Linked DNA regions of Homo sapiens: region 1 is linked to region 2. The links are contacts of gene promoters, found by promoter capture Hi-C in human tissues and cell types (Jung and others, 2019). All regions are on one chromosome and are shown on one strand. Each heading gives the region's core, a stretch centred on a gene start or on the middle of the fragment in contact. The rest is flanking DNA. Distances are from core to core; before and after follow the strand shown.

Region 1 (6,158 bases), core at 1,441-3,940, 51 kb after region 2:
AAAAAAAGAAAAAAGAAATAAATGAGATAGCAATACAGATCAGTGAGGGGAGAGTGGAATATTGATAAATAGAAAAATGATGAACCACAAGGAGAAAAAGTAAAACTAGAGTTCCACATCTTACCATGCACAAAAATTGACCTACATGAATTGGAAATTGATGCCCAAAACAAAATCTTTTTCCTTTTTTTTTTTTTTTTTGAGTTGGAGTCTCCCTCTACCACCTGGCTAGAGTACAGTGGCACGGTCTCCGCTCACTGCAACCTCCACCTCCTGGGTTCAAGCAATTCTTTTGACTCAGCCTCCTGAGTAGCTGGAACTACAAGTGCACGCCACCACACCCGGCTAATTTTTGTATTTTTTAATAGAGATGTGGCTTCACCATGTTGACCAGGCTGGTCTGGAACCCCTGACCTCAGGTGATCTGCCCGCCTTGGACTCCCAAAGTGCTGCGATTACAGGCATGAGCCACCGCACCTGGCCTTCTTCTTTCTTTTTCTTTTTCTTTTCTTTTTTTTGAGAGAGGGTCTTAGGCCGGGCACGGTGGCTCATGCCTGTAATCCCAGCACTTTGGGAGGCCGAGGCGGGCAGATCACCTGAGGTCAGGAGTTCGTGACCAGCCTGGCTAACATGGTGAAACCTCGTCTCTGCTAAAAATACAAAAATTAGCCAGGCGTCGTGGTGGGTGCCTGTAATCCTAGCTACTTGGGAGGCTGAGGCAGGAGTCGCTTGAACCCAGGAGGTGGAGGTTGCAGTGAGCCGAGACTGTGCCACTACACTCCGGCCTGGGAAACAAGAGTGAAACTCAGTCTCAAAAAAAAAAAAAAAAAAAAAAAAAGAAACGGAAAAGAGAGAGCATCTTGAGCTATTGCCCTGGCTGAAATGAAGTGATACAATCATAGCTCACTGTAGCCTTGAACTCCTGGCTCCAGGGATCCTCCTGCCTCTGCCTTCTGCCTTCCAAGTAGCTGGGACTACAGGTAGGTACCACCACATCTGGCTAGTTTTTTATTTTTATTTTTGTAGAGACAGGGGTCTCACTATATTGGCCAGGCTTGGTCTTGAACTTCCCAAAGTGCAGGGATTGGAGGCATAAGCCACTGTGCCCTGCCCTTCAACTGATACAAGGGACATTTAAAAGAATTTATGTTAGAGCATGAAAATATGTTTTTTAAAAAAACAAAATAAGCCCGAACCATAAACAAAATATTGGTAAATTTGACTACATTAAAAAAAGTTCTGTATTATAAAAGATAGGATGGGGGACATGATAAACCACAGACTGGAAGAAGGTGTTTACAATGTAGGTGATGGACAAAGGATTAGTATTTAATATGTGCAGCATTCCTAAAAAGAAACAGAACCAAGTTGCAAAGGATATGGATAGGCAATTCATGGAGGAATAAGAGCTTAAACTCAAGAATAATTGCTATGGTTTGAATGTGTCCCCTCCAAAATTCAGGCATTGAAACTTACAATGTGATGGTATTAAGAAGTGGGGCCTTTAAGAGGTGATAAGGTGATTAGTGTGCCTCTCCTTATGAATGGAATTAGGGACCCTTACACAAGGCCTTGATGGACTTGCCCTTCTGTCTTCCACCATGTGAGGACACAGTGTTCCTCCGCTCCGGAGGATGTAGCAACAAGGTGCCACGCTGGGAGCAGAGAATGTTCCTCAGCAGGCAGTCACACCTGCTGGCACCTTGGTCTTGCACTTTCCAGCCTCTAGAACTACAAGAAAATAAATTTTGGTTCTTTATAAATTACTCACTCTTAAATATTAGCAGCACAAACAAAGGCAGAAATAAAAAAATGCAAAAAAAAAAAACCCACAGTGAGGTAAAACTATCATATTGGTAAAAGTTTAAGTCTGAAAACCCCAGTGATAGGTCCTTATGAATCAACACTGTTGGGGCAGGAGTGGGTGTGGGGGGTTGCAAATTAGAATAATCACTTAGAACAATTTGGAAAAATTTCGTCAAGTTGAGAATGTGGATTTCCTCTGATGCTGCAATTTCACTTCAAGGTGTACACTCCCAGAAATTCTTGTACAGGTGCACAGGGAGCCATATACAGGATGCTCACTGCAGCATTCAACATTTGTAATGCTGAATACCTGGAAATCACATTGATGTCCATAAGGACGCATAAATTAATTGTGATGTCTTCATACTAATTTATTGATCATGTGATCTTGAGCTTAAACCCCAAATTTTTCTTCACTTGATGATGAGGATCACAGTAGTACCTATCTGATAAAAAGATTTTTTGAGGATAACATGATTAAATACTAGAACAGTGTACAATACTTTAAAATGCCTAGAACAGTGTCAAGCACAAAATAAAATCCATTAACAGTGGTAACGACAGCAACAGGAGCAATAGTAGAAGTAGTATACGACAGTACGATGAATATATCAACATGGCTGAATTGTACAAAATGTGAAAGAGAAGAAGAAAGTTGCAGGAGAATATATACAGTATAATACTATTTGTGTGAAGTTTAAAACCATCAATGCAGTACCATATAATGTCTATGGAAACATACGTATATTACAGAATTGTAGAAATATGCATGGGAATGATGAACACCAATTTCTGGATAATATAAATCCATCTAAAATGGATTTTGACGATGGAGACGGGGAAATAGGATCTAAGAGGGTAACGGAGGCTTCAGTAGTATCTATCATATTTTATTTTTAAGCTTGATTTTGTATGATATTTGCCATCTATATTATTGTATGCCTGAAAACAATAAATTTTAAAGATATTACTTTGGCTGGGAACATACTTTGTGTTTTTCATCTACCCCTTATCTATGCCCTCATTACACATTGGCTGCTCCAAAAATGATTAAATCTAGGAGGCCTTCATTTAAAATGTCCAAAGCAAACAAACAATCTCATTTCAAAAACTCATAGAAAAATACTTCCATTTTGGTTTTTTCTGGCACAGAAATAAGTTTCTTGAGAAAGTGGGGCTGTGCTGTGTGTTTTGTTTATTGTCTAGCATAGGACGGGAATTAAAAATACATTCACAAATTAGTTGGTGATTCACTTCTTTGGAATTTAAAAATAAATTTCCCACAAAATTATAATAATTACTATCTTTTGAGACAGGATCTTACTCTGTTGCCCAGGCTGGAGAGCAGTGGCACTGACATGGCTCACTGCAGCTTCAAATTCCTGGGCTCAAGAGATTCTCCCACCTCAGCCTCCCAAGTAACTGTGATCACAGGCATATGCCACCACACTTGGCTAATTTTAAATTTTTTTGTAGAGAAGGAGTCTCTCTGTGTTACCCAGACTGGTCTTGAACTCCTGGGCTCAAGTGATTCTCCTACCTTGTCCTCCCAAAGTGCTAGGACTATAGATGTGAGCCACCATGTCCAGTCCATGAATAATTTAAAGAGAGTGACTAATTTCTCACCCTAACTCATAAAATCCTATTTAATCCATGTTGTTCTTTAAATTGCAGGCAATTGTAACAAATGCAGAAAAACTTTTTTTTTTTTTGGCTTGGTACTATTGTGGTAACATCAGTCTCAACACAGGCATACTTTCATTGAAAAAGGAAAATTCTAAATTAGCTGGTGTTTTAAATTTCCCTGTCTTTCATAGTATTTAATAACCTCTGTTTACAAATACACAATTCATCTTAATTCCAAATATACCATAATTACATTTTTCTAAAATGGATTTTTTTCAGTGTTGGAAATTCTTAATTGAAAGCCCGCACCCCTAACTGATTTGTGGGAGCTCTAAAGAGAAGTATCAGGAAAGCTCTACCCCAGCTCAGTCCTACTTTCTTGGTTACTACCTGGTTCCCACTCACTTTCAGGGCCAGAAGCTGTCTGGTGAGAGAAAGGTGGACACCCCTACCTGGGTAAATAAAAGTTAGGGGTGGAGTGGGGACTGGGCAGAAGTGACAGAGATGGCACAAGTAAGGAGAAAAACAGGATTTCATCAAGAAGATCCAGGTGGAAGCCAGGAAATGACAGGCTCTCAGGAAAAAGTAGCATGGAACAAAGTCAAGAGTGAACAGGAAAGAAATGAAGATCCAAAAGCAGGAAGAATTTAAGTTGTTCAAAACCAAGGCTATTGATTTGGGCTGGAGTTTCTGCTTAGGTGGGACCTGTGTGGCTGAGCTGGGGGCAAGAGCTTAAAGGAGTTACAGACAGGACACCTGGGAGGAATTTCCTTTGAACAAACCAAATCCCTTGTCTATCTGAAAACTGAAATCCATTTCTTCTCCCTCTTTTCTTCCTTTTCCATATTCTCCCTCCTTCTTTCTTTCCTCCTTCTTCTTTCATTTGGAAAAAAATTTATGTATGTTCCACCATCCAGAATGAAAAAATGTTATTCCATTACATTTGCTTCAAATACTTTTAATAAAAAATAAAGTATTAAAAACAGATTTGTACCCCTTCTCAGTCCCGTACATCTCCTTCCCTCCCAAGCACATCCACTATCATGAATTTCGTGTGTGTTCTTCTAGTTCGTGCTTTTTCTTTCCTTTGGTAATTTGACTATACATCTATCTGCCTATTGTTAAAGAAAAAAATATTAAATGATACTTGTTAAAGCATGGTAAGGAAGACTTTATTCAGGACCATCATGACATGCATTGGGACCACAGCAATGGGATTTTGCAGTGGGGAAGAGAGATTGGGCTCAACTTTGAATTCAGCATGGGCAAGTGGGAATTTATAGCCAAGGGGCAGAGTGGGGATCAGTGGATGGAAAACTACTAAGAGAAAACGTCAGGGGTAAGGGGGTTTCCTGTCTAAAGTGACCTAATAGGATTCTTGCTGAAGATGGGCCAGAGTGATCAGACGCCACCTGGGAGATAGTGGAGGATGAACTCGGTCAGATATTGAGCATGGTTAGATATCAAGGGTGGGCATTCTTGCTAAACTGACTTAGCAAGGTTCTTTGCTAAAACTGAATTTTGTAAAGAGGTGCACAGATGGGCTTATGAAAAGGTTCAGGAGACTGAATAAAGGTTGGCCAAAGAATCTTTTTTACCATAAACACTATAATATACTGTTTTGTGTGTCTCAAAGATAGATGTAAATATATTATACCTTGCATATTGTTCAACAATTTGCCTTTGTCATGGAACATACTTTTTAGCTCTAGCCATGTTGACTTATGCTGATAAAATTTGTTCCTCATAAGTAGTGTAGTATTCCATCATACAACGTGCCACATTTTTTTTCTTTTTTTTTTATTATACTTTAAGTTCTAGGGCCCATGTGCACAACGTGCAGGTTTGTTACATATGTATACGTGTGCCATGTTGGTGTGCTGCACCCATTAACTCGTCATGTACATTAGGTATATCTCCTAATGCTATCCCTCCCCCCTCCCCCCACCCCACAACAGGCCCCGGTGTGTGATGTTCCCCTTCCTGTGTCCAAGTGTTCTCATTGTTCAATTCCCACCTATGAGTGAGAACATGCAGTGTTTGGTTTTTTGTCCTTGCGATAGTTTACTGAGAATGATGGTGTCCAGCTTCATCCATGTCCCTATAAAGGACATGAACTCATCATTCTTTATGGCTGCATAGTATTCCATGGTGTATATGTGCCACATTTTCTTAATCCAGTCTATCTTTGTTGGACATTTGGGTTGGTTCCAAGTCTTTGCTATTGTGAATAGTGCTGCAATAAACATACGTGTGCATGTGTCTTTATAGCAGCATGATTTATAATCCTTTGGGTATATACCCAGTAATGGGATGGCTGGGTCAAATGGTATTTCTAGTTCTAGATCCCTGAGGAATCGCCACACCAACTTCCACAATGGTTGAACTAGTTTACAATCCCAACAGTGTAAAAGTGTTCCTATTTCTCCACATCCCCTCCAGCACCTGTTGTTTCCTGACTTTTTAATGATTGCCATTCTAACTGGTGTGAGATGGTGTCTCATTGTGGTTTTGATTTGCATTTCTCTGATGGCCAGTGATGATGACCATTTTTTCATGTGTCTATTGGCTGCATAAATGTCTTCTTTTGAGAAGTGTCTGTTCATGTCCTTTGCCCACTTGTTGATGGGGTTGTTTGTGTTTTTCTTGTAAATTTGTTTGAGTTCTTTGTAGATTCTGGATATTAGCCCTTTGTCAGATGAGTAGATTGCAAAAATTTTCTCCCA
Region 2 (6,520 bases), core at 1,129-3,628:
AAGATTTGGCCTGTGAGCTGTGGTTTGCTAACTCCTGTTTTAGAGTGTGATTCTACAAATGTGAACCCTGAATCTGAGCTTGCATATCACCTGGGAACTTGTTAAGAATGAAAATTCTTTAAAAATGTCTGAATTAGAAACTCTGGGGAATGGGGTCCAGCCATCTTTTTTTCTAGAAGCCTTGCTGGTGATTCTGAGCTGGTGATTCTGAAGACCACTGCTATATGTCATCTGCGCCTATATCTACATTTAGATAGATATAGATTTATGTATTTGTTTATTTATTTTGGGGGCATACTGTTCCCACCCCTGCATGCTGATGCCCCAGACTTCTTTTTCCGCAAGCAGTAAGGCCTTCATTTAAAGGAAAATCGCTTTGTATTTCCCTTTCATTCACCATTGAAAGTAATATCCAAAATGGCTACATTCTGAGAAGAAATTTAACAACTTTCCTATTCACAGAAGTCTCAGGATTTCGAGAACGTGGGATTGGCAATGGAATTTCTGTAAGTATTGTTTTTGTTGAACAGGTACCTTGGGAGAAAGGAGAGGAGCAGCACTGAAAATGTTTCCTCAAGCCTCACCTACTCCCAGGTGTCTTGGCGGGGACTCCAGGAACAAATGCCTTCAAAATGAGGAGATAATTTCATTTCCATCGCTATCCTCATTACCAAATTGAAACCGGAGATAATGGCTTTCATGTCACCTCACTTGCCAAGATACACTCAAAACCCGTCAAGTCAGGTTGTCAAAACGACACCAGCAGCTAAAACATACAAAGAGCCTCGGCCTCCATCGCCACAATCCCTGGCGGATGCAGCACCAGAAACAGCAGCCGTGGCGTCTCAAAGTTTACGCACGCGTTTTTCAAAATTAAAACTATGCATCTGCAAATCACTCTGGCTGGCTTAAACCTCTTTTTCCCTTTCTATGCCAACACCGGGGAGAAGATCGTCCCAGACGCCATTCGCCCATTTCTGATACCACTGAAGTCATGAGCAGGTCTAACAAAATAAAACATCACCCAGCCGTCGGGAAGTAGAAGACTCCTGTTGCCAAGGAGAAACTAAGTTCTGCTCCTCCTAAGGCGCAAAAATGACCTCGAGATCTCCCCAGAAGGAAGCAGAGAGGAGGGAGTTCTGCCACATGGAGAGGGTTTTGCTGGGCTAGGGAGACACCGCCGGGCTCAGCCTTTCCCTTCCTTTCTCTAACTTTCCCTCATTTCGCTCCGCAAACTGAGTTATATCTCGGGGCTGTGGAAGGAATCCAATTTGGGGAACTCAGCAGCAAACCTTCCTGGCCCAGGGCGCAGCTCGCCTGGCGCCGCGTCCATCCCGATCCGCTCCACCCTTCCCGCCCCGCATCCGCGGCCGGACAGTCTCAGTGCCCTGCTGCCTCGGGGCCCGGGGACTCACAATTACGGGCAGAGAACACATAGTGAAGAGCACGGTCATCAGCGCCAGCAGCAGGAGGTGATCCAGCTCCTCCAGGGGCTGAGGGGACGCTTCCCTCCCGTCCGCGCGCGGCTCGGCACAGTCCCTGGTGCAGGAGCGCGGGTGCCGCTGCAGCCGCCGGTGCATCGCATAGAGGTTGCGCATGGCGCCGAGGTTGCACAGCACGGTGGCGAGGACCAGCAGCGCCATGAGGCTGGAGTAGAGCACAGAGTACCCCAGCACCGACAGCGAGCCCTCCTCGTGGACCATCTGGATAAAGCACCAGGTGCCGGGGCAGTACTGCACGAACTTCCCGAAGCCCATGAAAGGTAGCGCGCAGAAAGCCAGGGAGAAGGCGCTCACCACCGGGGCCACCAGTGCGCCCAGGCGCAGGGTGATGTGCCGTCGGTAGAAGAAAGGGTGCCCTAGGGAGAGCCAGCACTCCAGTGCCATGGCCAGGAGTTGCAGTGTCGAGGAGAGCCCAAAGAAGGACATGAAGAAGGCGAAGGCTTGGCACAACGAGTTGTCCAATGCGGGCGCAAGCACCCGCAGACTCCGGTTCTGAGCGTAGGCAGCCAGCACCACCGGGCTTAGGAGGCACTTGCCCAGCAAGTCGGTGACCGTCAGGCCACACACCAGCATGTAGAAGACCGAGGGCAGCGGGCGCAGTGGACGCCGCGAGCACCACCCCAGCCCCGAGCGCGCCAGCAGCCCCAGGGCCAGCAGGTTGCCCAGGAGGCCGGTGCTGAAGAGCACCCCGCCCATCACCGCCGAGTTGCCTTTTTCCACAGAGGTGGTGTTCTGGCAGCGGTAGAACGGCGACTTCATGGCGTGCGGGAGCAGAGGGCTGGAGTGAAGGCTGCGGAAGGGCGAGGGCCCCGGCGCCCGGGTGCTAAGGAGCCCCCGGCAGCTCCGCGCGCGGCTCGGGCGGAGAAGCTGCGCCACAGAAAAAGCTCCGAGGGCGGCGGGGTGTTCCCCACGGCAGGAACCTCCTATCTAAACTCGCGGGTCACACCCCTCTTTGAGAGGCGGGACGCTCTGCAGGGTGAGCGCCTGGCGCTGGCATTGAAGAGCGCGGAGCAGGCCAGTGAAGAGCTCGGCCCTGACGCGCTGCGTTCTCAGTAGAGACAGACTCTGGTGCCGAGTCGGAACGGCAGGAGGAAAATAGCCAGAATTCCAAGCACCCAACACCAGTCCTTCTAGCGAGGCAAGAGAAGAACTACTAAAGTGGAGGGGAAATTAAGCAGCAGCCACCTGAGAGGAGGGCAATGGTGCTGGTGTTTGAACTGGGGTGGCCAAGAACTCGAAAGATGAGCGAAGAGGGGAGGCTGAGAAAGGGCTTCTACCTAGTTGTCTTGAATTAGCTAGTCAAGGAAAGGTAAAGATAACTCACGTCTGGAAAGCCCCTGAGCCTTAGCTCCTCTTCTCTACTAGATCAGCGCAATTTGGGGCATTCACGGTCATCTCCATTGCATAGGCGAGGAAACTGAGGCCTTGGAAAGTTAAGTGATCTGCCCGTGGTGACAGAGCTACAGAAGTAGCAGAGCCGGACCTCTCACCCGATCTTCTATTTTGGAGTTCATCTGTCCTGTTCCCATGACTCCTCCTCCCAAGAAGTTGTCCAGATTTCAGGGAAGTGGTTTGTGGGAAAGCCAAGAGCCGGTGTTGGTCCTGGGTGCCATGAATCACATTGACTGTAGAGAGCTGGGGGGAAGGGCATGGTTAGCAGCACTGTTGCTGTCATCAGATAGGCCTGGGTTTGAGTCCAGGTTCTGCTCCTCACTGTGTGTGTGACCTTATGGGACTTGCTTAGCCTCTCAAGCAGTAACATCTATCTGGCCTGCTTGGCTCTTCTGAGGCATAGAAATAACACGTAAAGAGCAAGTACATAGAAAGTGCTCAATTCATGCAATCACCATGATTCTTATTTGATAGAAGGGTGTTTTGGTAGCTGATGTTTAACTGCAGTTTTTAGCATGGATTTTGAAATCAGAAAATGGTAGATTTGGCATAGAGCTTTCTCACTCCTCTGATTTGTGGCTACTAGAAAAAATTTATTCCTGTTTGGGCTTTGACTTGGCTGCATCATAAAGGCAAGGGAGTTAATTGTGATAAGCGTGATTTTATATCTTTAACTAGCATTCGATGCCCTGTGAGAGAAATTGGCTTTGAGTGTGGAATCTCAGTGGGATGACTAAGGTTTTGTTATGTAAGTGAGTAGATGATGCCTGGGCTTGAAACGGCTCATTTTTAGGCCTCATGCCAGTTCTGATGGACAGACTCAGGGAAAGAGCAAGACCCTTGGGATTTAGATGTGAAAGCCTGAAGGGTAGACAGAGAGGCTGCCTCCAGACTGAAAGTCTGGCCAGTAATTCAGGCCACAGGGTGGAAAAGAAGAATCTAAGCTTGGAATTAGATAGTTCTGAACTCCACCACTGGCTGTGTGACCCTGGGTTAGTTGTTCAACCTAATGGAATATGAGACTTATGCTGAACTTGTGGGGTTGTTGTGAGGTTGAGAAAACTTGAAGTGCTTTGGCATAGTGTAATAATAATAATAAGAGCTAATATTTATTGGTCCTGATGCAGGTTGGACACTCTCTAAGCCTTTCACTTATATTGACTCAATAGAAGGCCTTGTATAGAGTTAGTTCCCTTGTCTTCTACCTACTCTCTCTCATTCCCATCTCTAGCCCCTAGCACATAAGAATGGGTTTAGAAGAGCCCCACTCGACTTAATGAAGTGAAAGGAAGAGCAGGCCCCATAACCAAAAGACATGAGAATTTGATGAAAGCTGTGGTCTCCTCCATAGACAGACAGACACACACACACACACAGGCACACACACACAGACACACACGCAGACACACACACACACACTTTACATCAATCTCAGGCTGTTCACCATTTCCTGAAGCCCTTCTATGGTACCCAGAGGAGACCCAATGGACACTAGCTTAAGAATCCTTCCTCTAAAAATATTGCATGGGTTGTTCTTCTGAAGCATACCTACTTCAATTCTTTGCAGCTTTATTTTCATGCTACAGTGGCTTACAACTCCGTATTTATCCTAGGAACCCTAAGATTACAAATACCTTTTAAAGAAAACAACCCCAAAGTGTGACTGTTGGGCCAGCTGTGGGTCCTTGATAAGGTTTACATACATCATGCTTTAAGGTTGAAGGTTTTGAACAAGTGCAATTCAGGAAACCACACGTTTCCTCTCAGCCACTGTAGCTGGCCTTTACGATGGGGTTTCCGGTTGCCTTTCCTGATTGCTTTGCTGGTGTCCACCCTACCCTGTTCTCAGGCCTAACTTTGGAGTCTTCTGTCCCAGTTCCCGAGAAATTCTATTTTGTAATTTCACCATACAACCAAGAAAAGTATCATTTGTTCATGCGTCAAATAGTTTTTGCGCTCCTACTCTGTGCCAAGCATGGGGGTGAGGGGATGAAGCATGTGGGCACTGAGGGGCATACAACAGATAAGGAAAGGCAAACATCATGTCGTGTGACCTCTACAGGCTTATACATTTTTATATCAGCTTTCAGAGTAACCAGGCTAAGTACATTTTTTCCTTAAAAGGGAAACCTTTAATGAAAATATCTTAGGCTAAGTTAGTGGTAAAATTACCTCCATTATCTACAGAGCTGTACCAGGCTGCTTAATTGGGTTATAGGACAAATCTTCTGAAAATATATGACATCATGTGGATGACTATTTTAAATATATAATTATATTATGGCAATATAAACATAAAAATCATAGATTCTCATGGACAAGGCTCAGAAGCTGACATAGGCAAATGAAAACATTCACTTAGACTTGAGAAGGGATGGCAGAAAAATATCTCCTTGGTTTCTGATATTTTCAATGTTGTATATGTAATAATTATTTTAAAAGACTTTAAATGTAAAACAAGTGATATGGTTTGGTTCTGTCCCCACCCAAGTCTCATCTTGAATGTAGCTCCTATAATTCCCATGTGGTCATGGGAGGGAACTGATGAAATGTAATTAATCATGGGGGCAGGTCTTTCCCATGCTGTTCTGTGATAGTGAATAAGTCTCACAACATCTGATGGTTTTATAAAGGAGAGTTCCCCTACACAAGTTCTCTCTTGCCTGCTGCCATGTAAGACGTGACTGCTCCTCATCCACCTTCTGCCATTATTGTGAGGCCTCCCCAGCCATGTGGAACTGTGAGTCAGTTGGACCTCTTTCCTTTATAAATTACCCAGTCTCAGGTATGTCTTTATTAGCAGCATGAGAACAGACTAATACAAGAAATGTATGCTTATGGTGGGGATCTAGGAAGGGGAAAAGAAGGAAAAAGGAACATTTATTTTTTTCTGGATCCATTCTAACTATGCTTCTAAATCTTATCCATTGCTCACTTCTACTGAACTCCAAGTGATATTTTGGGCTGGGGCTTGTGAAGAGCAAGGAATGGAGAGGAGGGATGCTAACAAATGATAAACAAACTTAGCTCTCAAATTTGGAGCATGTTCTGCATGCTAGAGACCATGCTAGATGTTCGTTCACATTCAGGACCTGGAGTGGTAGCATAGAAGTGTGGCCATGATGTGTTAGGTCCTGGGAGTCATACTGTGTGAACTTAAATCTCAGCTTTGCCCCTTGCTAGCTGTGTACCCTTGCATAATCTTCTAACCTTTCTAAACCTCAATCCGCTTGTCTGTAGAAAGGAGGGAAGGAGGGTGAAGGGGGATAATTGGACTGAACTCTTAGGGTAGTATCTGGCTTAAATGAAATAATCTGCATAGAACAATAGTTAGCAATCTTGGCTGCACTTTGGAATCACCTGGAGAGCTTTAAACCTTTGTGATGCTTCAGCACCCCAAATTGATGATATCAGACTCTTTGGGGTTGCCCTCCAGGCTTCAGTATCTTTTTTGAAGCTCCCCAGTTAATTCCTGTGTGCAGCTCAGGTGAGAATGTTAAGCACTGTGCTGTGGCATGCTCTGCGTGGCTCCGTAAGTGATGTTCATTAATGTTTTTATTCCTGCCAACTGCACTGCAGAAGTTTTCTTTATCTCTCTTTTCTTGGATAAGGAAAATGAGACTCAG

The links. The method cuts DNA at HindIII sites, captures the fragments that hold promoters and counts their contacts. A contact is called where the count stands out against the background at its distance.
Region 1: a contact is called between a fragment that was not itself captured here and the fragment with the promoter of PTGDR in region 2, in 1 of the 25 tissues and cell types used here (IMR-90 fibroblasts).

Annotation. Positions count from the first base shown.
Region 1 is chr14:52,213,356-52,219,513 of GRCh38, reverse strand. No RefSeq gene overlaps it. Among named protein-coding and RNA genes, the nearest start is that of PTGDR, 51 kb to the left of the region's middle. The HindIII fragment of the contact is 4,919 bases long and covers 231-5,149 here.
Region 2 is chr14:52,263,556-52,270,075 of GRCh38, reverse strand. It overlaps PTGDR (prostaglandin D2 receptor), which reads right to left and starts at 2,378. Exons shown (of 2, transcript NM_000953.3): 1 at 1,416-2,378. The coding sequence starts at 2,261. The HindIII fragment of the contact is 10,952 bases long and covers 1-5,477 here.